Linked DNA regions of Homo sapiens: regions 1, 2 and 3 are each linked to region 4. Evidence: promoter capture Hi-C in 16 types of primary human blood cells and fetal thymus (Javierre and others, 2016). All regions are on one chromosome and are shown on one strand. Each heading gives the region's core, a stretch centred on a gene start or on the middle of the fragment in contact. The rest is flanking DNA. Distances are from core to core; before and after follow the strand shown. Region 1 overlaps PMAIP1 (phorbol-12-myristate-13-acetate-induced protein 1). Region 2 holds the start of DSEL-AS1 (DSEL antisense RNA 1). Region 3 has its middle 27 kb from the start of PMAIP1. Region 4 holds the start of SERPINB8 (serpin family B member 8).

Region 1 (5,295 bases), core at 1,102-3,601, 4.1 Mb after region 4:
TATGATTCAAACTTCAGGGGACCTTAAAGATGATCTAAGTCTCAATTTCAGAGATTAACTGTGGCTCAGAGAGGTTGTCTTGCCCAAGGTCACACAGCTCATTCATGATTTTGCCTTGAAAGTCCACCTTCAAGATTCTAAAGTGGGATACTCCTTGTACCGCAGCACTTCCAGTCACTATTCTATTTTTAAGGTGTTTGTTCTCTTCCTGATGGATCGTCCCCTTTGACGATTGACAATGAGATTTACAGGATTTTTGACCCTTTAGGTGGTTTCTGCTCCGTGATTGAGAGGAAGTGGGGCAGGGAGGAGTTTGTAGAGTTATTGCAATGGATTCCAAAACCCAAATCACAGCACACAGTTCTTTAAAGTGAAGAACAACTTATTCACAGATAGATACATTTTCTTTTATAATATAAATGCAAATTTAAAAGCTAGCAGTTTTTGTCAGTCAACAGATATAATTAGAATTGCCTGAACATCTTGGACATTTTTTAACATTAAAATATGGTTCTCAAAGAATATATAGCTCTAATATCTGAAGATTGTGAATCTGTGCCTAAGCCTTCATGTGCTACTCTTTATATAAAAGAAGAGCCTGAGGTACACTTTTTTTCCTTGTTTTCTAGTGGTGGCGAGAACTAATAAGGTGCACTTTTAGCAAAACAATTCTGGCTATGCGAGCAGGCTCAGAGACAGGAGTTACTCTTCCAGTGATTCTCAAATCAAATCATGTAGTTTGTCCCCACCCTTTCTGAAGCCAAGCTCCCACCTCCACCCCACTTTCCCAGAGAAAAGCCTCTCCCTCCAGATTGTTATGTATCTTGCCCATAACCCTGCATCCTCCAGCTCTCTGGTTCTTCTTTTCCTCTAGTAACTCCTCCTTCTTCCCTCACGTTTCCCATGTTAGGAAGGCAATTTACATTCTAAGGTGTCAGCTGACTCTTTCCCTTGGCAGAGGTGGGGTGAAGATGTGGCTACCAGATTGAAGCTAAAAACTAGGGGTATCTTTTAGTTCTCACACTCAAACAGGAAGGCCATTGAGTTACACCTACTTTTGCACATGACTAACCTCAGATGAAGCAATCTTTGCTACTCTACGGCTGGAAGCAGAGGAAGAAGCGTGAGGTCACCAAAAAGGAAACTGCACTGCAGCTCCTCTTGCCAGACAGACCCAGGAGCAGTCAAGGATGCCAGCTCACAAAACACCTCTAATTAGATCATGAATCTGTATAGGCTGTAATCCCAGCACTTTGGGAGGCCGAGGCGGGCAGATGACTTGAGGCCAGGAGTTCAAGACCAGCCTGGCCAACATGGTGAAATCCCCGTCTCTACTAAAAACACAAAAATTACCCAGTGTGGTGGCGTGTGGGGGAGGCTTTAGCACGAGAATCACTTAGACCCAGGAGGCAGAGGTTGCAGTGAGCCAAAATTGTGCCAATGCACTCCAGCCTGGGCGACAGAGCAAGACTCTGTCTCAGAAAAAAAAAAAAAAAGGACCTATGTTGGGCATTCATTTCCTATTTTTCACTATTTCCCCTCCCAATTAAAGTGTAAGTCCCTTGAGAGCAGAAATCATGCAAACTCCCCTATATTTTCTACTCCAACTACTGGGAGGAGACAGTGTGGTCAGAAGGTCAGAGGATGTCTGCTGATGGAAATCAGTTAAAATACTTTGGCTTGATAATGAACACTTAGTAATTAGTAGCTTACAAGATGAAGACAAAATTAACACACAGAAAAGAACAGTGAAAACTTTTAATAGTTTACTGCCACAGTATCAACTTTTATATGTGTGCATATGTTTAAATACAAATTAGACCATAAATACCAGATGGTAAAATAGCTGCCTCTAGGCTGAAAAAAAAAACTCTCTACCACTAAATAAACAATCTTAAGTAATACTGAAGAAAACAGATGTGAGGTAATTTTCCATCTAAAGTGACTACAACCTACATTAAGACATTTTAACTAAAAATTCAAGTAGTTATAAGACTCTTGTAACTCAAAAATGTAACTTTAATACACATTTTCAAACTAAAGAAAAATACTTTAATTATAAATAGGCAAAATAAATAAAATTATTCCTGCTGAAATAAAATCAAGACATTATTTATTTGAGGACTGTATATAGCCCAGATAAAAAAAATGAAACTTACTTGAGACCCTACTAAGAAGCTATATAATACTCTAATACAAATTATCTATACAGATACCCATATAAGTATGTAAGTATGTGTATACATATATATTCACCAATGCATATATGGAACTTTCATTCTAGATGAGAACTAACTGTTCCTTTTTTTTAAGAAAAGTATATTCCAATTATGAAAATATTCTTAATTTACATTAAGAGATCACTTTTTGTAGGATGCACACTAATGTGACAAGGAGCATTTTCCGAACCTTTAGAAACTTCTTTAGAAACATTCATATCTTATCAAGTTACTTCTGAATATTTGTTCTACTAAGTTTCAAAAACATCAATTAAAAATTAACTTCTTTTTTCTTTTTATTATCCCTGGTTATACAAAATCCCCATGTTCTTTTATTATATTGAATGTTCAGTCTACTGATTTACTGGCCCCAAGTAACCCTCCTATACTTTATCCAATTTTTTCAAAGTTATTTTCCAGTTTTCCATAGTTTCTAGTAACGCCCAACAGGAACACATTGAATGAAAGATCATCTGAACAGAAGCAATACAATTTGAGTCAAAAGAAACAAATGATTTTACGTTGTGTAGTGACCGAAGAAATCAACACTGAGTATAACATTTCAGTGTTCTCAGAATGAGTTTTTTCATTATAACAAGGTAATATGTATAAACCGAATCATATACAATGTGCTGAGTTGGCACTGAAAAGCAAAACACCAAAAACAGCAACAACAACAATGCACTGAACTGTTTCTCCCCAGCCGCCCAGTCTAATCACAGGTCATCTCCCTTCACAGTAGGCCAGCGGTAATCTTCGGCAAAAACACTAGAACGATTCTCTAAGTAAAAAAGAAATGTGTCAATAATTACTTCTTTATTTTCAAGGGTCTTCCATTCTTGCTTTAAAATAAACAAAGTGGTTTTATAATGTTCTCTCATCCCAAAGAATGATAATCTGGGAAAACTTGAACAGAAATTCACTTTGATGTATTCCATCTTCCGTTTCCAAGGGCACCCATGAATGCACCTTCACATTCCTCTCAATTACAATGCAGTCTTTCTTCAAATTGATGAAACGTGCACCTCCTGAGAAAACTCTTTTGAAGGAGTCCCCTCATGCAAGTTTTTGATGCAGTCAGGTTCCTGAGCAGAAGAGTTTGGATATCAGATTCAGAAGTTTCTGCCGGAAGTTCAGTTTGTCTCCAAATCTCCTGAGTTGAGTAGCACACTCGACTTCCAGCTCTGAGAAGGAAAGCAAAACATGGACATGAACATTGATGATATTACAGACTGTAACCAGCAAAACCTAATACGCCCACACTAGTGACAAATTGAGTATCCCAGGAAGCATTTCTCTTAACTTTGGCTTTATGTGCACCTGTTTTCCAAATGTGACACACACACACACTTACACACATTGTGACTCACCGAAAGCAATCGTTAAGGTAAGAATAAAGACATTTACTTTGAGTTTTTAAAAAACGCATCCTGGATGAGGCAAGTGTTACCTTACTTTCAAATATGTCAAATACCACAAAGAGTAGCATTATCATTCTTTGGGATGTGAGAACATTGTAAAACCACTTTGTTTATTTTAAAAGCAATGCTACAAAGAGTAGCATAAGTCACCAGCCTTAGATGATGTCATCTTTTTCTCTTCATTTAAGGTTGGCTGGGAAACAGAAGTCAAGTTCTGTGTGGCTTTCAAGTAGGATTTGATTTTCAAATGGCAATAATTTACAGCTTAGGTTATACTCTCATTATATAGGCAAATCTAGAGGTATTCTTTTTCTCGTTAAAAAACGCTGATATTTTTTCATAAAAGACTCATAAAATCTTATTCTAAAATTAAGTCCACATTCTCTAAAATAATTTAAACATTTCTATTTTAATGTAAACCCACTTCTTCCTATAACCCCATTATGTACCAATCCATTGCCTTTATGGAAATGAGAGGAGCAGAAAATAAGCAATGTTTAATTCACATGTTTACTACTTTTTGGAATTGAGTTATTCTAACTGAATATTAAGAAAAATGATGCTTATAATTTCCAAGTACACTTTTTTTCAGTAAGTGCAGTTAACACTATACTGACTATAATATCGTATCTATACTGACTATAATTTCAATTTTCTTGAATATTTCAAAGAGCAGCTTGAGGTCTTTCGGGTACACTTCATGATTACAAACATTAAAAAATCATGATTACAAATTAAAATCTGGTCTATTTTATAAATCGACCCTGAAAATACCGTATTTAGGCTCAAAATAAATCAAAGCTGTCAATATATAGTAAAGCAAAATCTTAAACCTATATTTCAACCAATTTCTCTCTACAAGAAGTGAGTGAAATCTTTCCTAACTCCTACACCAAGAGACCTAATAAATCCCTTAAGGTGTTATTCTTTATGGGCTACAAGATCAAATATGTTGGGAAGTATTTACATAGACATGTTGTCTACAGAGATTGAGATATATTAATATACAGTTCTAAAAGAAAAACCAAATACCATTCAGCGTCCGACACTGGAAGCCCTGAATTCTAAGTGGAAAAGTTATCCCTTTCACCAAAAATGTAGAAAACAAGGCAGAAAATACTTCCCGGTCATTTCCTTAATTTTTTAAAAATTGCATTACACACCTATAAATGTATTAGTATCAATCAAATCAAGTTTAAGAGGGACTTTGTGCTGCTTCCTGTTCTTGGGAATTAAGTCGGACCAGAAAGTGCTATGCATAAGTAAGATCCTTCAGAAAGAAACAAGGTCAGAATCCTAAGACATCACAAAAGGTAGACAAAGCTTTTTCCATCCCACACAAGCGCCAGAGACAGCAGCCTGTTACCAACTTAGGCATGGTCACATTTGCAATGCACCACTTCCTTCGCACGCCCCAGGAGCTCTATAAAATGAAAGTAACTTAAAAGGTGGGGGGGGCGTATAATCGTCTGATGCAACAGCAGTATGGCCCACACAGACTTCGGGCTCTGGGCAGTGACTGGGTTCTCTGTTTAGATTTAGAAAAAGCATGGGGCCGGGGCGCTGGCCTGAAAACTTACGATGGAGCTGTATGTATCGGGGTGGGGAGTGCGAATGAATGAATGAAAAAAAGGAGCGGACTAACTCCTATTCTC
Region 2 (5,156 bases), core at 973-3,472, 3.5 Mb before region 4:
CTGGGCCCTAATCTGCCAGCACCTTGACCTTGGACTTCCTAGCCTCCAAAACTGTGAGGAAATAAATTTCCATTCATTATAAATTACCCAGGGTCAGGTATTCTGTTATATAAGCACAACATAGACTGAGACCAAAAGGCCAAAAGGAAACTAGGGCACCTTTTTTTTAAGGCACCTCTTTTATACGGCACTAATGTCATTCATGAGAAGAGGACTTCCCAAACGGCTCCACCTCTTAATACTACCAATTTGGTTCCAACATGTAAATTTTGGAGGGACACATACATTTTAGCCATAACGGCTGGCTCTAGAACAAACTGCAAATAGGTAATTGGCAAGTCAGGGGGACAATTTAGGAATTGATTTGAACTACCAACAATTAGCACATAATCAATTTTTAGAGTCAGTGGGATGGGTCAGAGTTTCTCATTCTCAGCAGTACTGACTTTCTAGTCTGCATAATTCTTTGACTTGTGAGGCAGGAGGAGAGGAGAAGTTGTCCTGTTCATTGCAGGCTATTTAGTAGCATCCTGACCTCTATTCACTAGATTCCAGCAGTCCCTCCCACTAACCGAGACCAACATTGAAATTTCTCCAGACATTGCCAAATGTCCTGTTGAGAAACACTGGTGTAAGGATACCAGGCCAGGGGAAAGGGAGGGTGGAAGAGCCCTGGAGAAAACATCTTATGATCCCTTTGCAAGTTTTACTTTGTTTAAATTTTTCTTTCATATCAAAAGCTAAACTGTATGTAAGCAAATATGGTAGCAATAAAGCTTCTCATTTATGAATTCAAGGCTTTAGTAGACTTATGGGGAAACTTTTTCCCCCAGAATTTGGCTTTGGTATTTTTAAGTTTTAATAAATCTACTTACTGTCATACTGACTCTTGTGCAGCTGGATAAACAAACTCAAGAAACACTCTTAGCCACATCTTCATTAGCAACTCTGCAGGCAAAATCCCTGTCATTTTGAGATGTTTTGTATTCAAAGCAATTGCGGAAAAAAAAAAAGTATTTCCAGACTCTACTGCCTGCTTTAAACTTGTGGTTTTGTCTTTATTATTGGTGTGGCCTATTACTGCTGGCCAACTGGGCAATAAAATTTGCAGCTTAAGTTTGGTGTCTGTTTCTAAACAGTTACAGATGCTATATCCCTAACCTCTGGGGCAGACACTAGTTCTAATACTGCTAGTGGATCAATATAATATACATCTGGCCCTGGTAAGTGGTTCGAGAAATCTGCATCTGAGCTTTCACGGCCAAAGCTGTAGCAAAGGTGGATTATGCTATGAGAAGAATAACAAAGCCGTCTCCATATTCAAATGGCTATGCTGCTTGAAAGCCCAGGTATTGGAGACCTGTGCATAGGAGTTGCTGAATGCACAGCAACTAGTTCTTGAATGTCTTGGCCCCATTTATTTAAAAACCACCAGAATAACAGATCATGGACAAATGTGATTTTAGATCAGGGACTTTATGTAGTGTCTAGGCTTGTTTTATGGCTTGTACTTTATCGTTCTCAGGCTCAGAGCTTGAATTTGCCTATCTTAACATATACAATTAATGCAGAAATCCTCTTGAAAATGTTGTATGACTTTCCAGTCTCATGTTTCACTTGAATTAAGTCACCTCAAGGCATAGCTCCAATTATGGGTTGTGTGGTAAGAGGCTTCTCAGCACAGTCAGGAGAAAGAGTGTGTGACTCTGCTTAGAATGTAGTAACCCACTTTAGACCTTTATGACTTTTTCTCTTCTGTCATAAAATGGGGGCGATAATTCATGTTAAACATTCACCAAACATTTTTCAAAAAGTGCCAGGCTCTGGGATAGATGTTGAGAAATAAAATTTTAAAAGAAAAATAAAAGAGAGAGAGAGGAAGGAAGAAAGGAAGGAAAGGAGCGCGAGAAAGGCTTCTGTTCTGGAGAATCTACTCTAGAAAGCATTGTTTCTGTTGTAAGATAGGTGGTTGTGGGTAGGTTGAAAGATAGGCAAATAAAGAAAACAGATTTTCATAAGTACTTTGAAATCACGGAGTAAAATCTCATGTAGATTTAAGATCCTTTTATATAGAGAGAAATCCCCAGAGCAATAGACTGCACTGTTCTTCACTTACATTAAAATAAGATACTGCTCCAGGATTCTGAATTTAGCAGCTGTTGGTACATGTGTCTCTTGCCACACTCATAAAGGTTTTTAATGTACAATAACATAGCATATAGCTCATCCCTTCTATGGTCGGATGCATTATTTATAATTAACTAACTTTGTACCATCTTCATGTGTGGAAGGAGCAATAATTGGAGCTATCCATTTTTAGTTCACAGAAAACAAGACTCTCTTCATTTTTGACAGTGCCATTTACCTACCACCCTTTCTGCCAATGATTTGAATTGTTCAGTTGTGGCTCTTGTTTTATTTTAATGCATTCACATTTTACCACTATGCAAAGATGTCTGTTCAAAATGAATTAGTCTGAAAGCCCATCTGAGAATGCTGGGAGGCTAGCTGCATCCCCACTGCTTCAGCACAGATGCATGGGGCAGAGCTGAAAGGCCACAATGTCGGTACCTGAATTCATTCTTCTCTAAAGTGAAAATGATCATACTGATATTTCAAAATCTGAAAACAACATTGGAAGAATATTTGCCTGGCAGATGTTCGCGCATTAATTCTCTCTGACTCACCTTGCCCTCGCATCATGAGACACTTTGAATCCATAGAAATAACCCTGCCCCACACTTTGTTCTGAGAAATGTTCTGTACATCTAGTAGCTGTGTTTACTAACCCTAAATTCTAGGCTCCCCTCTGCAAACAGATAGGAATCTCTGGAGTCAGCTCCCCGTTTCCCCCAACTCTACTCTCTCATAAATGTGGTTGGAGGCCATGGGTCCTCTTCCTCTATCAGGGGCCATGTAGAGGCACAATCCAGATTTTACAGGAAGTTGTGTCAGAAGAGGATCCTTGTTTGGGAATAAACCTCAGTGGAGGAGACGAGGCTCTGTATCAGCCCAATTGTTCGAGGTTCAACTCATTTCAAAAGCAGATATAGTACTTACAAAGGGGACTTGAGTGCTACTCATGACTTGAAGGAGTTTTGAATAGGGTACAGGAGTCAACCAGTTGAAATAGAAAGCAGAAAATAAACAACCTAAACGGCCGAATATAGGTACAAATGATATAGTTCTGGAGTAATACATTCTGGCTAGGGAAACTTAGGAGTTATTTACAGAAGAATGTAAGCATCTGAGTTGAGACCTGGATGATCAGATAATTTCAACAGTCAGAAGAATTTTAACTAGTAAGTGGGGTGGTTGGGTAAAGGACACTGTGAGGGAAAGAATGGAATAAGCATAGTTACTGAAGCACCCAAGCAAAAGCAAGTGTGGCTATTTGGACTGGGCTAGGGGTTACTACGGGGCCAAAACAGAAGAGTGATGAGGAGTTAGAGGCCACATTTCACCTCAAAGTTAAATGATTTGAAATTTATTCTGCTAGCAGTCGTCTACTGTTTGATTTTCAGCAGCAAATGATCTAAGCAAGACATTTATTTTTAAAATGTTAAAATATATCTTATTAAATATTACCAAAATAGTATGGGAAATGAAGAGACTGAATGTGTTACTAATCCCCAACTGAGAATGGAATTGTTCATTTGTGAAGCTTGATATTTCCCTGTATTTTTATTACTACTAAGCTATTATTTTTTACATTTGAGGTCAGAGCTTGGGTTGGTTTATGCCAAAGTGTCATCTCAGCTATCTGTGAGAAGCTCCATGTGTGGAGTGCAACAGGAGTCCCAGCCTGCTCTAGGATTTCCACGACCTGGCACTGCACTCACATGTCGTAGTAGCCGGGGCACACTGCCTTCTCCTGTCTGCATGTAGGTCTTTACCGAATACCAGGTCCCATTTTTAAATAAGAGGCTCCTTCTACTTGTTTGTCCCATGCTTCCCCTATTTATACTGCCTGAGAAATTGTTTTCCATCAGTAAAGCTGATTAGTCTTTTCTGTTTTCCCTTGATCTTTGTTAGCATCTGGGCTACAGAAGTTGTCCTCCTATATTAATCTGGGTATTTCGGTTTTGCTTTTCCAAAGGACAGCAAGCTCAGCCAGGCTGCCTCTCAGTTCCAAGGGAGTGCTCATTCCCTCCTTCCCCAGCCCTTGCTCTTTCCAAAAGGATGATTTCTGTCGTCCCAGGGCTTATCCCCTCCCACTCCAGCTCCTCCCATCATTTGAGTCAATCCCACAGCCCCCACTATGGCTCTATTATATAGTTGTCGTCTTCCCATAACCAAAAGGTTTTAACGCCAGCCTGGCAGCGTCTTTAGACTCTCGCACTCCCAAACTGTCCCCTCCTCCAGCTCGACTCCTCCGGGAGCGCGCGGCCACCGCTGCAAGCCCAGAACACAAACGCCTAGAGCTTCCTCCGCTTAGAAACCCGGGGCGCTTGGCCCCGCCTCACCTGCTTTCGGCCCCGCCCCGCCCGCCGCCGGCCTGCTCACGGCTCCTCCCGTCCTCCCCGAAGCCCCGCCTCTGACCCCGCCCTGTCCTGTCTCCGTCCCGCCCCACGCCCGCCAGCCAGCGTCGCTGTCTCTCGCCTTCCCTGAGGCCCCGCCTTCAGCCCCGCCTTCAACCCCGCCCCGTCCTGCCTCCGCCCCGCCCCCGCTTGCCGGCCCGCGTCGCCGTCTCACCCTCCCCGGGCTGCGCGGCCGGAGCTGGCACAGAGGATCCTCGGCCGCGGCGACATCACCGCCTGGGCACGCGGGCGCTGCTCTGGATACGGCGCCACCGAGAGAACCCGCCGCCCGCGGGTCTCTGTCCTGCGGTCCGTGGTTGCCCCCACAAGCGTCCGGCGTTTCCTGAGGGCGGGCGTGTCCGGGCCGTGCGGGTCGCGGGGACCGAGCGCGGCTGAGGAGACCGAGCTGGGGCAGCGCCTGCCGTAGCGCGGGAGACGACGCGGGGGTCTTGCGGAGCCCCGCGGGAGCCTGGCCCGCCGTGCAGAGCAGTTTTCTGGAACTCTCCACCTCCGTCTCCCTTGGGGCCCAGTGCGGCGCCGAGCCCCCGTCGGGATCTGCCTGAGGTAAGCGGACTTGGTGGCTCAGGGGTCTCTCGCCATCCTGCCTCACTCAGCCCCAGAGCGGGGAGCGGAGAA
Region 3 (5,537 bases), core at 115-2,614, 4.1 Mb after region 4:
AGACACAAGCTGTGTGATCTCACTTCTGTGTGGAATCTTAAAAAATCAACTCACAGAAGCAGAGAGTAGAATGATGGTTGCCAGGGGCCAAGGGGGATGGTGAGAGAAATAGGGAGAAGACAGCCAAAGAGTACACACTTTCAGTTACAAGATGAACATGTTCTTGCCCGGGCGCGGTGGCTCACGCCTGTAATCCCAGCACTTTGGGAGGCCGAGGAGGGCAGATCACGAGGTCAGGAGATCGAGACCATCCTGGCTAACACGGTGAAACCCTGTCTCTACTAAAAAATACAAAAAAAAGTTAGCCGGGCGTGGTGGCGGGCGCCTGTATTCCCAGTTACGCGGGAGGCTGAGGCAGGAGAATGGCGTGAACCCGGTAGGCGGAGCTTGCAGTGAGCCGAGATTGCGCCACTGCACTCCAGCCTGGGCGACAGCAAGACTCTGTCTCAAAAAAAAATACATTCTGTACATCATAGTGACTATAGTTAAGGATACTGTGTTGATTACTTGAAATTTGCTGAGAGAGTAAGCTTAAGTGTTGTCACACACACACACATTCACATGCACAGAAAATGGTAACTTGGTGAGGTGATGGATGTATTAATTAATATGATTGTGGTAATCATGTGGTAATCATTGTGGTAAACAATGTATACATATATCAAATCATTATGTTGTAAACTATATATATATTTTATTTTATTTTTTATTTTTTTAAATTGAGACAAAGTCTCTCCCTGTCACCCAGGCTGGAGTGCAAATTCACCACAACCTCTCCCTCCTGGGTTCGAGCGATTCTTGTGCCTCAGCCTCCCGAGTAGCTGGGATTAAAGGCATGCGCCACCCCACCAGGCTAATTTTTTTTTTTTTCCACATAGAGTTTCGTTCTTGTCACCCAGGCTGGAGTGCAGTGGCGCAATCTCGGCTCACTGCAACCTCCGCCTCCCGGGTTCAAGTGATTCTCCTGCCTCAGCCTCCCAAGTAGCTGGGATTACAGGCGCCCACTACCACAGCCAGCTAATGTTTTGTATTTTTAGTACAGATAGGGTTTCATCATGTTGGGCAGGCTGGTCTCAAACTCCTGACCTCGGGTGATCTGCCCGCCTCGGCCACCCAAAGTGCTGAGATTACAGGTGTGAGCCACCACGCCCAGCCTAATTTTTGTATTTTTAGTAGAGACAGGGTTTCACCATGTTGGCCAAGCTGGTCTCGAACTCCTGATCTCAAGTGATCTTCCCACCTCAGTCTCCCGAAGTGTTGGGATTACAGGCATGAGCCACCACACCTGGCCATGAATATATATAATTTTTTTTTTGTCAATTTTACCTCAATAAAGCTGGGGGAGAAAAACCAAAACCCAACAAGATAAATATAAGAGGTTTTCATTCTAAAATTCAGGCTATTTCCTGACACCGACGTTCTTTGCACTGGTCTATACCAGTTCTCAAGTCTGTTTTCATGGATTTGTCTCAGGCAGCTCTTAAAGAGAGGTGATCTACCTCTAAACTTGAACATCAAGAGTAAAGTGTGCGACAGTGGTCGGTGCATTCTGGGTGCATGAGACATGTCAGCCTTCGATGATGAGTCACATCAGTAGTTTATGAATTCCACCAAGGAAGATGAAGTCCAGGCCATTTGAAAACAAACCAGCATGATGTAATTTCTCCTTTGATCGCTCAAATGACCAAATATGTGTAAAATCCCTTCGTAAACCCTGAGACAATTTTATGAAAGTAAACGGATTTATTGTAGTTGTATTTTGGTTTTAGTTGCTTGTTGTTTCTTCAGTCTTCAATTGGAGCTGTTCTGTAAAAGTGTCTTTCCAAATAGATATTGTAATAAAAATACTGTAATAATTTCTAATGGAATCATATCCATTTAGAGTTTTGTCCCAGAAGGATTTATCTCACCCGATAGCAGAGTTTTCTGAATAGCCTCTAAAGTGGGAAGCGTCTTGGTGGCTTCCTCCAACTTTATCTGGAAAGTTTTCAGGCTTTTTCACATTGTTTTCTAGGATTCTTGGTGGCAGATAGAGAACACAATTTGGAATAAAATCTGGACTTTCATTCTAACAGACAGAAGTTTCCATAATGCCTACTCCTTTCTAATGTTTGTATAAATATAAGGATATGACCCAGTTGTTTTTAGATCAACGTCAGATATAATCATTTCCTGCCCAGATGCACAGAAGAAGCTTGGAAATTTGTGCTTGTCTATTTTAAAAAAGAATCAAGAGTGAAAGCCAAAGATTTTTGTTTTTTGTTTTGTTTTTGTTTTTGTTTTGAGATGAGATCTCACTCTGTCAACCAGACTGGACTGCAATGGAGTGATCTAGGTTCACTGCAACCTCTGTCTCCTGAGTTTAAGCGATCCTCCCACCTCAGCCCCGTGAGTGGCTGGAACTACAGGCACATGCCACCACTTCTGGCTATTTGTTTGTATTTTTGGTAGAGACAGGGTTTTGCCATGTTGCCCAGGCTGGTCTCGAACTCCTGAGCTCAAGCAATTCGGCCACCTTGGCCTCCCAAAGTGCTGGGATTACAGGCATGAGCTGCCGCGCCTGGCCAAAAGCCAAAGGTTTGATTGTGAAGGCCCTGTGTCACTCAATATTAGGATAGATCTACTAGCTGGATATTAGTTGTCAGTTCAAGTGGCTTGAACTCTGTTTTAATACTAACAGTGGCATTGAACAAAATAGCAAGAAGTAGCATAATTAATTATTCAAATAAGGCAAATTATTAAGAATTTTAGAAATTCAAATATCCAGCTTTAAAAGCTAAAAGCCAGGCCAGGTGCAGTGGCTCACACCTGTAATTCCAGCACTTTGGGAGGCTGAGGCGGGCGGATCACCTGAGTTCAGGAATTTGAGACCAGTCTGGCCAACATGGTGAAACCCCGTCTCTACCAAAAATACAAAAATTAGCCAGGCATGGTGGCACCTGTAATTCCAGCTACTCTGGTGGCTGAGGCAGGACAATCACGTGAACCTGGGAGATGGAGGTTACAGTGAGCCAAGATTGCACCACTGCACTCCAGCCTGGGCAACAAGAACAAAACTCGTCTCAAAAACAAAACAAAACCAAAAAAAAAAAGAAAAGAAAGAAAAAAGGTAAAAGCCAGCTTTGTGCCAAAATCCTTTATGATTGGCTGATTTCCTTTACAAAATTCAACATGTTTTCACTGAGTGTATTTTTCAAACCCAGGGTTTGTAAATAGACATTTATGAGCCCAGATCTCTTTTTGAGATTCTCCTTTGTGAGATTTCTAGAACCTCCCCCTGCCCCCTATCAGTTCCATTATCTTGAGAAAATTGTTTGTGGCTGTAGTTTCTGATGTCACTCTCCAGTGCAGGGACATCTCGCCTAGATGCTATTTTCAGCTGAGGATTTGTTTTTAAGTCACAAGGTTCAGTTCTACATTGTTATTCAGCAAATATGTCTCCTGTTTACCATTTTAAGTGGTATACAATAAAAAGGAGTTCTCAAAATTTCAAGAAAAATAAACCTTTGCATCCTTTATACATTTCAGAACTTTATATAAAATGTATATAATTCATTAATCTTTGAAAAGAAACAAGAAAATAGTGAGAAGCTATACCTAAAAACACTTGTGTGTGGTTTTTTTGTTTGTTTGTTGTTTGTTTGAGACGGAGTCTCACTCTGTCGCCCAGGCTGATCTCCAACTCCTGGGCTCAAGAAATCCTCAGGCGTCTGCTTCCCAAAGTGCTAGGGTTGCAGGTGTGAGCCACAGTGCCCGGTCAGGTCAGTACTTAAGTTTTAAACAGGCATTGAATTCCAAGCTTAAAGTCATTTCAGCCAGGTGCAGTGATGTGTGGTTTTAGTCCCAGCCACTCCATAGGCTGAGGTGGGAGGACGCTTGAGCCCAGGAGTTCAGGGCTGCAGTGTGCAGTAATGGAGCCTGTGAATAACCACTGCACTCTAGCATGGGCAAAAGAAGGAGACTGTCTCAAAAAAAAAAAATCATTTCATAAAATACTGAAGGGAGTAAAGGGAAACAAGTCTACGGTGGAGAGTCTTGGAGTCTAGTCCCGACTCTAACTCAGTCCCGACTCTAACTCAGCATGTGATCTTAGGCAGCGGACGTGTCTGAACTACAGGGGATTTAACACTTAGTTGCATACATATTTGCCAGGACCTGAGTTTTGTTTATTCAAAGTATCAGACTCCTCATCTTCACAGTCAAAAATGTTTTGAAAATAAAACTCTCAGTCTTCAGGTTGCAGGTTACAATAAGAGCAATTTCATTTTCTTTTCTTTTTCTTTTTTTTTTTTTTTTAAGACAGGGTCTCACTCTGTAGCCCAGGCTGGAGTGCAGTGGCACAATCACAGCTCACTGCAACCTCAACCTCCTAGGCTCAAGTGATCCTCCCACTTCAGCCTCCTGAGTAGCTGGGACTACAGGCGAGTGCCACCACGCATGGCTAATTTTTGTAATTTTTTCGTAGAGACAGGGTGTCAATTTGTTCCCCAGACTGGCCTCGAACTCCTGGGCTCAAGCGATCCACCCACCTCGGCCTCCCATAGTGCTAGAATCACAGGCGTGAGCCATCATGCCCAGACCTAAGAGCAATTTTCAATACAGCAAAAGTCTTCATCAAAATTTACTGTGAGAAAAGGGCCCATGTAACTACTGTTTTTTTAAATATTTTTTGAACTATATTTACTTATTTGGGACAGAGTCTCACTCTGTCACCCAGGCTGGAGTGCGGTGATGCAATTATAGCTCACTTTAACCTCTAACTCCTTGGCTCAAGCAATCCTCTTGCCTCAGTCTCTCAGGTAGCTGGGACTACAGGTGTGCACCACCATGCCTGGCTATTTTTAAATTTTTTGTAGGGACAGACTAGCTGTATTACCAGGGCTGGTTTCAAACTCCTGGGCTAAAGCAATTCCTTTTCTTTTTTTTTTTTTTTTTTTTTTTTTTTTTTTTGGAAGAGGAGGATATAGATAGGAAGGGAAAGGAAGGGATTCCCTTTTCTTGACATGTATTCATTACTTCACCCCACTCTCATGTCATAAAATAGCTATGACTCAGTAATATTGAGATGTTTTTAACCAAGTTCAATAGTAGTGAAATTCCTTTTTATTTCCACATGCTCTCTTTACTTGAAAATGTGTGTTCTTTCTTTAACAACAATGTTGGTTTTAAAAAATGAAAACATGTAACAAAAAATGAAAGTAAGAAAAAGTGAATAAAAAAACTAAAGACTATTACATGCATACAATACTAAAGATGCTGGTGACATGAATTTTCTCCTCTCATTTGTGATCTCTAACTTACACTTTTAAAATGAAATTTGGAGAAAATCATTTACTGGTCAGGTGCAGTGGCTCACACTTATAATCCCAACACTTTGGGGGGCTGAGGTGGGAGGATCACTTGGGCCCAAGAGTTCAAGACCAGGCTAGGTAACATGGCAAAACTCTGTCTCTACAAAAAATACCAAAATTAGCCAGGCATGATGGCCTATGCCTATAATTCCAGCTACTCTGGAGGCTGGAGATGGGAGGATTCCT
Region 4 (5,724 bases), core at 1,024-3,523:
ATAATGTATTAAAGGATTAAGCCACAGAGTAATACAGTATTATTCCATATACGTAAAGTTCAAAACCAGGCTAAACTAAATCATTCTGGATGCATGTGTAGACAGTAAAACTATGTCGTTATTATCATGAAACTCAGGAAGGTGGTGATACAGAGGGGAGGGAAGCGGATGTGATGAGGGAGGAGGGTGTGATCAGTAGGGAAACACGGCCTCCAGCGATGACAATATTCCAGTTATTAAACTGGGTGATGGGTTGTACTGCTGTTCTTTATAATTCAATACACATTTTAAATGTTCTTTTGTATTTATTCAATAGGTAATGAAACTTATTAAAACCACATATCAAAAAAAAAAAGAAAAAAGAAAAGCCGGGCAGGCATTCCGTAGGTGGTGAAATGGGGGATGCAAATAATAGGCTGAGGAATTAGCAGGTGCCAAGAATGTGGCAGGAAGACAAAGGGCATGGTTTGTGTGGTGCCCCTGGGGTGGGTTTCTATGGTTTCCTGTGAGCCACGTGGTAGTGAGATAGGACGGACCCTTATGCCACATTTAGGAGTTTGAACTTGAGATTATGGTCTGGAAAGCCATGCATGGTTTTTAAACAAACGTCTCATATGAGTGCATTGGGGCTTTAGAAAGATAACCCGGCTCAGTATTTGGTATGAAAAGAGGCTGGGGAGCTGGCGCGTAGGCCACCACCATGGGCCAGGGACTGCTGAAAGCAGAGGGATTGTCTGCAATAGAGAAGTGGGGGCTGGAATTGCCAGGCAGTGACTGCTCACATAGGGACAGAGCACAGGAGGGCCCAGTCCCGAGGCGCCTAGCTGTTATAAATTCATACTCAGGGTGGGTCGTGAACCACTGGAATTTTAAATGAGGAGTCAGGCTGGAATGGGGAATATGACTTGTTCCATTTGAGATGCGTGGAACACACCATACCAGGTGAACCTGTAACAAAGACAGCCAAGGATGTTTGTAAACAGTTAGGGACGGGGATGAGTAGACTGTCTAGAGCCAGAGACCTGGAGCCATCAGCATCCCGATTCCGAGAGGTTCCATGAGAATGGATGAAACTACACAGAACATCTAGTGGAGGCACAAGGGAAGAAATCCACCTATTTCTGTGGAATTTCCAATATCTGGAGGTAGTAAAAGGAAGAGACAGAGGAGGGCGAGGGGAGAGCGCGCGCGCGAAACGGAGACTGAGACCCAGCCATCAGGGTGTGCTGGGAGAACTGGGGAGACGAGTCTGCCCCTGCGAGTGGACCCAGGGAAGAGGGCGCGGTCTACGCAGAGCCCGAGGCAGGGAAGCGGGAGGGGCCCGGAGAGCAGCCCTGGGTGAGGCCCTTTGGAATGGAGAGGTCTCAGGAGTGAAGCAGCAGCCAGAGGACTGAGAGTGTCTGGAAAGTGAGGAATTGGTTAAAGTAACGCCGGTGGCTGCAACAGAGAGGGGCGTAGGTGAAGAAGCACCCCCAACCCCATCCCATTTGAGAGGAAGCAGACAATGAAGAAGAGAATATGAAAGATACAGAAAGATGAAGGCAGGGGTGGAAAGAACGGAGGGGGGGGACAGGAAGGGAAGGAGAAGGTGCAACCAATAGGCTGTAAGCACAGGGGCAAGCTTGGGCGCCAGGGGAGCAGGGACTCGGCGCCTCCCCGATCTGCCCCAGGCGCCACGGAAATTCCAGGCCCCGCCACCCGCACTCCCGGAGCCTCCTCCGCAGCGGCGGCTCCTCCCACTCGCCCTCCCGGGGCTCCCGCCCAAGCTTCCGGCGCTTCCAAACTCACTGCTCGCGTCACCCCCCGCTCCCATCCGGCAGCAAATCACAGCGCAGCAAATCGCAAGCCTAGAAACAGACGCTCCCTCTCCAGGGGCAGCTTCCTATTCAGGGCGGGTCTGGGCGCACCTGTTCTCGGGACCCGGCCCTCGGCCTTCGCCGGGTCTCGCGGTGGGGCTTGGGACCCCGGCTGGTGCCAGGGCGACCCCCACAGCCCCGCGACTCTCTTTCCCGGCCGCCTCCCGCCGTCATTCTCCTAGTTCCTGCCCGCCTTTGCCTCGCTCTGATTCCTGCTCTGGCCTTCCTCCCTTCCCCTCTCTCACGCACTCCAGGGAAGAGGTGGCCTCCGCGGGAACCTGGGCACCTCCGTGCCTGCCCCGCCCGGTACCTGGCAGAGGCCCCCACCTCCTGCTGCTGCTGCTGCTGCCGCCGCCGCCGCCGCCGCTGCTGCTTTGACTATTCCTCCTTTGTAGATGCTTCACGTCCGCCTTGATTGAGGGCAAGGCTTCCGGCAGATGACTCAGAACCGTTCGATTGCTCTGGCTTGTGCAATCCCTGATTCTTTGGGCCTGTGTGGATGTCTGTGGGCACCGGAGAGAGGGCCAGTGCCTGGTCCTTGGAGGGTGGTTTTTATAAAAAGTGTACACATTGGCTATTGTCCTTTTTTCACCGTTGATTCACGTTTGACTCCACTGTAGTTAGACGTCCACCCAAACATTCTCTGAAATTGCTCCTGATAAGGATACTAATCATTTTCTAATTGCCTTGGCCAAAAAATACATCCCAGGTCTTATTTCATTTTGTTTGTTGGCGACATTTAGCCCTTTCTTCTTTGACCTTCCCAGGATTTCCAGAGCACCCTTCCCTTCTTTCCTGACTCCTTTGCTTGGTATCCTGATTCCTTTCCTACCATTCTAAGCCCTCTTCTTTTCATTATAATATGATCTTCTTGTATGACCTCCACTATATCCATAGGTTCATGTTTCAACTTTTAACTTATTTCTTCAAAATCTCTAACCTGTCTCGAGCCGTAGATGTTACCTGTGTACTACTGGACATCTCTCAGAAACCTGGGTGTGTCCCTCCGCAGTTCTTTTAACTAAATGATCAACAGTCCTGTTACTTCTATCACTTTTGTGTTCCTCCTGTCCATACTCTGTCACCTCTATCATGTCTCATGTCTCTCCTAAACAATTAATTTTCCTACCTACAGTTCTGATCCATGCCAACCTATTGCCTACTCTGAAGTTCAGGTAAACATTCCAATTCTAATTATTTTATACCTCAGTTTAAAATCCTTTATAACATCCTCTTATCCAAAAAGATAAATTAGAAACTATTGAGCAAGGAGTGTAAGCCTCTTCACGTCTTGATTTCTCCCTTCTTTTCTTTAGAGCCATAGCAAATTATTTACATTCCTTCATATCCTCTGTTCATATACATGGGGTTCCTGGCATGCAAGCTTGTCTTTCAAAATTCAGTTCAAATAATGTCTCCTGCAGGAAGCTCTCACAGAGCTCTCCAGTTTGGGAATTCTGCTTTTAAAGATGCACATTCCCACTCTGCACCCCAAACCAATTAAGTAAAGATCTCTTGGAGGAGGGAACCCAGCAGCAGTATTTTGTAAAACTCGCTCAGTGATTTCCCTGTGGAATCCTAAAAGTAACTGTTCCCAAGAACTCTCCTCAATAAGTCTTGGTGCAGGATTCACCCCCATCTTTTCTCCATGACTTTGAAACCCCTCTCTCTAGTGGCTACAGACTCACATTTGAACTGTGCCCAAACTTACCGGCTCTGCCAGTTGAAAATGCCAAGGTCACTTCCCCATTGTGCATCAATTTCTCCTTGTTGGTCAGAACTAGATCCAGACTTTGGGCCCCACTTTGTCCATCCACTCCTTTTCCTCTTTGACCAGCAAAACAGATTAAAAGATGAAAAATGCTTGTTTTCCTCCGTGAAACTTCCAGCAAATGCCTGGTGGTTTGAAGTCCTTTACAAAGGATATAATTTGGCCCCTGGGAGTTTGGTTGTAAACACAGATATCCCATGTAGGAAACACAGTGCGTGCAGGTGCAAAGAGGCACAAGATAGCACCATGAAAACCATGACGTATCCAGGCCTGCAGTGGTACAGATAGTGTGGATGAGGCACTGCAAGACAACGTCTGATGTGTCCACAGGGCCATGTCGTGAAGGCCATGTGGACGCTGTTGGTGGTGTTTCTTCGTTCCCTTGTGGACTATGGGGAAACACAAAAGGATTTTAAGCTGGGGAGAAACATAATCATATTTGTATTTACGAAGGTCCCTCTGGCTGCAACATGGAGTATATTGTAGGAGGGTACCATTGCCTGCAGTGAGGCGTTAAGGACGCAGCATGGATGAGAGATGAGGAAAGCTGAAATGAAACAGAGGCAGGAGAAATGGAGAGGAGGACATGGCCTTGAGGAATTTCCAGGACATAAATTTGGCATCACTTCTTGGACCATGAGAGGAAGAGGGAGCAGGAAGAATCAAAGATGAATCCAAGAATGAACAAATCTAATTTTTGAAATAATGCAATGAAAAGTAGAACTGGTCTGTTTTCCTAGGTAAGGAATTTGTCTGCAAGTCGATATTCACGAGGATTAATTGTATTTATTTTCTGAGTATGGACAATTTAAATGCTGGGCCCTGAAGGGAAACCCATCTCTCAGAATAACTAAAGCCCAATTTCAGAGTGAGCCTGAACAGGCTCCCCACTCCACCCTGGCCCACTGGGGACACAACAGGTAACTGATAAGGTTCCAGAGTATATAATTCAGTGCCTCAGAAACTGTCCTCAGCCTCATCTTCTGTCTTCTTGCCTCATACCTAACTTCACATCTCTTCAGTCAGTACTAGGGAGTATCTGCTGGTTCTCAACTCCCGACTCAACCTTGACCTAGTTTTGTCTGACTCCCTCGGCTCCTGACTTTGTGGACCTCAGGAAGGGCACACTCCTAGGCTAGTCTCAGGTTGAGCTACCACCGTCTCCAAATTAGACTTCCACTTGTCAAGAAGGAAGTAGAGTCCAGGCATAATTGGAGCTTCCTGGGGTGATTCGAGGTCTCTGTACTCCTTGCTGTAAAATGCACAAATACTCCACCTTAAAGAATCTCACGGGGCAGGGCACAGTGGCTCATGCCTGTAATCCCAGCACTTTTGGAGGCCGAGGCGGGCGGATCACCTGAGGTCAGGAGTTCCAGACCAGCCTGGCCAACGTGGTGAAACCCCGTCTCTGCTAAAAATACAAAAATGAGCCAGGCGTGGTGGCAGGTGCCTGTAACCCCAGCTACTAGGGGGCACTGAAGCAGGAGAACTGCTTGAACCTCGGGAGGTTGCAGTGAGTTGAGATTGTGCCACTGCACTCCAGCCTGGGCAACAGAGCGAGACTGTCTCAAACAAACAAACAAAAAACAAAGAGTCTCACCGGAGTTCCAAAATATCCTTCAGTGACTGACCATATACTCTAGCAAAAGTTACTTCATATATGCCCGGCCACAGCTCTCAATCTCCCATGAGATTCCCAGCAATCTTCCCTGGTTTTGAGAAAGTGTAAAAAAACACAAAAAGCAAAAACAAAACACACTTGCTTCAGCTAATTAATGCTAGAGAAACAAACATAGCATCATAAAATGTAAGCATTTGAAAGAACCATATTGTTGACGCTGTTCCTTATATTTTGCAGGAGAGGATGGTGAAATAGAGGTAGTTTGTGTGATTTGCCCAGAGTCCCATGAAGAATTCACAGAAGAATTGAGACTACAGTCAGTATGGCCACATTCCCAGAGAACTGCTTTTTCTGCCATACCCTGTGGTAATAATATTGTCACAAGACAATTGGACAGTGTTTCACATATTCAGTGATGGAAGAAGAGTTTAATTGAAATAAATAAATGTCAGGAAAAATTAATTCGATTGTGATAA

What was found. Contacts are between HindIII fragments. The CHiCAGO score rates a contact against its expected background, and 5 or more counts as called.
Region 1: a contact is called between a fragment that was not itself captured here and the fragment with the promoter of SERPINB8 in region 4, in 3 of 17 cell types (non-activated CD4 T cells, total CD8 T cells and activated CD4 T cells). The highest score is 17.0, in non-activated CD4 T cells.
Region 2: a fragment that was not itself captured here is called in contact with the fragment with the promoter of SERPINB8 in region 4 in 1 of 17 cell types (non-activated CD4 T cells); the score reaches 6.2 in non-activated CD4 T cells.
Region 3: a contact is called between a fragment that was not itself captured here and the fragment with the promoter of SERPINB8 in region 4, in 1 of 17 cell types (M0 macrophages). The highest score is 5.8, in M0 macrophages.

What each region holds. Positions count from the first base shown.
Region 1 is chr18:59,900,755-59,906,049 of GRCh38, reverse strand. PMAIP1 (phorbol-12-myristate-13-acetate-induced protein 1) reads right to left here. Exons shown (of 2, transcript NM_021127.3): 2 at 1,745-3,403. The coding sequence ends at 3,297. Among named protein-coding and RNA genes, the nearest start is that of PMAIP1, 3.4 kb to the right of the region's middle. RefSeq lists an enhancer at 1,055-1,224. The HindIII fragment of the contact is 5,229 bases long and covers 1-4,965 here.
Region 2 is chr18:67,516,289-67,521,444 of GRCh38, reverse strand. DSEL-AS1 (DSEL antisense RNA 1) reads right to left here and starts at 4,899. Exons shown (of 5, transcript NR_033921.1): 1 at 4,696-4,899. DSEL (dermatan sulfate epimerase like) reads left to right here and starts at 4,725. Exons shown (of 2, transcript NM_032160.3): 1 at 4,725-5,084. The HindIII fragment of the contact is 2,888 bases long and covers 779-3,666 here.
Region 3 is chr18:59,870,444-59,875,980 of GRCh38, reverse strand. No RefSeq gene overlaps it. Among named protein-coding and RNA genes, the nearest start is that of PMAIP1, 27 kb to the left of the region's middle. RefSeq lists an enhancer at 1-47. The HindIII fragment of the contact is 1,664 bases long and covers 533-2,196 here.
Region 4 is chr18:63,966,630-63,972,353 of GRCh38, reverse strand. It overlaps SERPINB8 (serpin family B member 8), which reads right to left and starts at 2,273. Exons shown (of 7, transcript NM_002640.4): 1 at 2,184-2,273. LOC105372165 (a long non-coding RNA gene) reads left to right here and starts at 1,850. Exons shown (of 3, transcript XR_935576.3): 1 at 1,850-3,031; 2 at 4,081-4,367; 3 at 5,486-5,724. It also overlaps a transcript of HMSD not described here. RefSeq lists silencers at 1,572-1,791, 1,862-1,921, 1,932-2,131 and enhancers at 1,605-1,899, 2,192-2,361, 2,392-2,441. The HindIII fragment of the contact is 1,474 bases long and covers 1,769-3,242 here.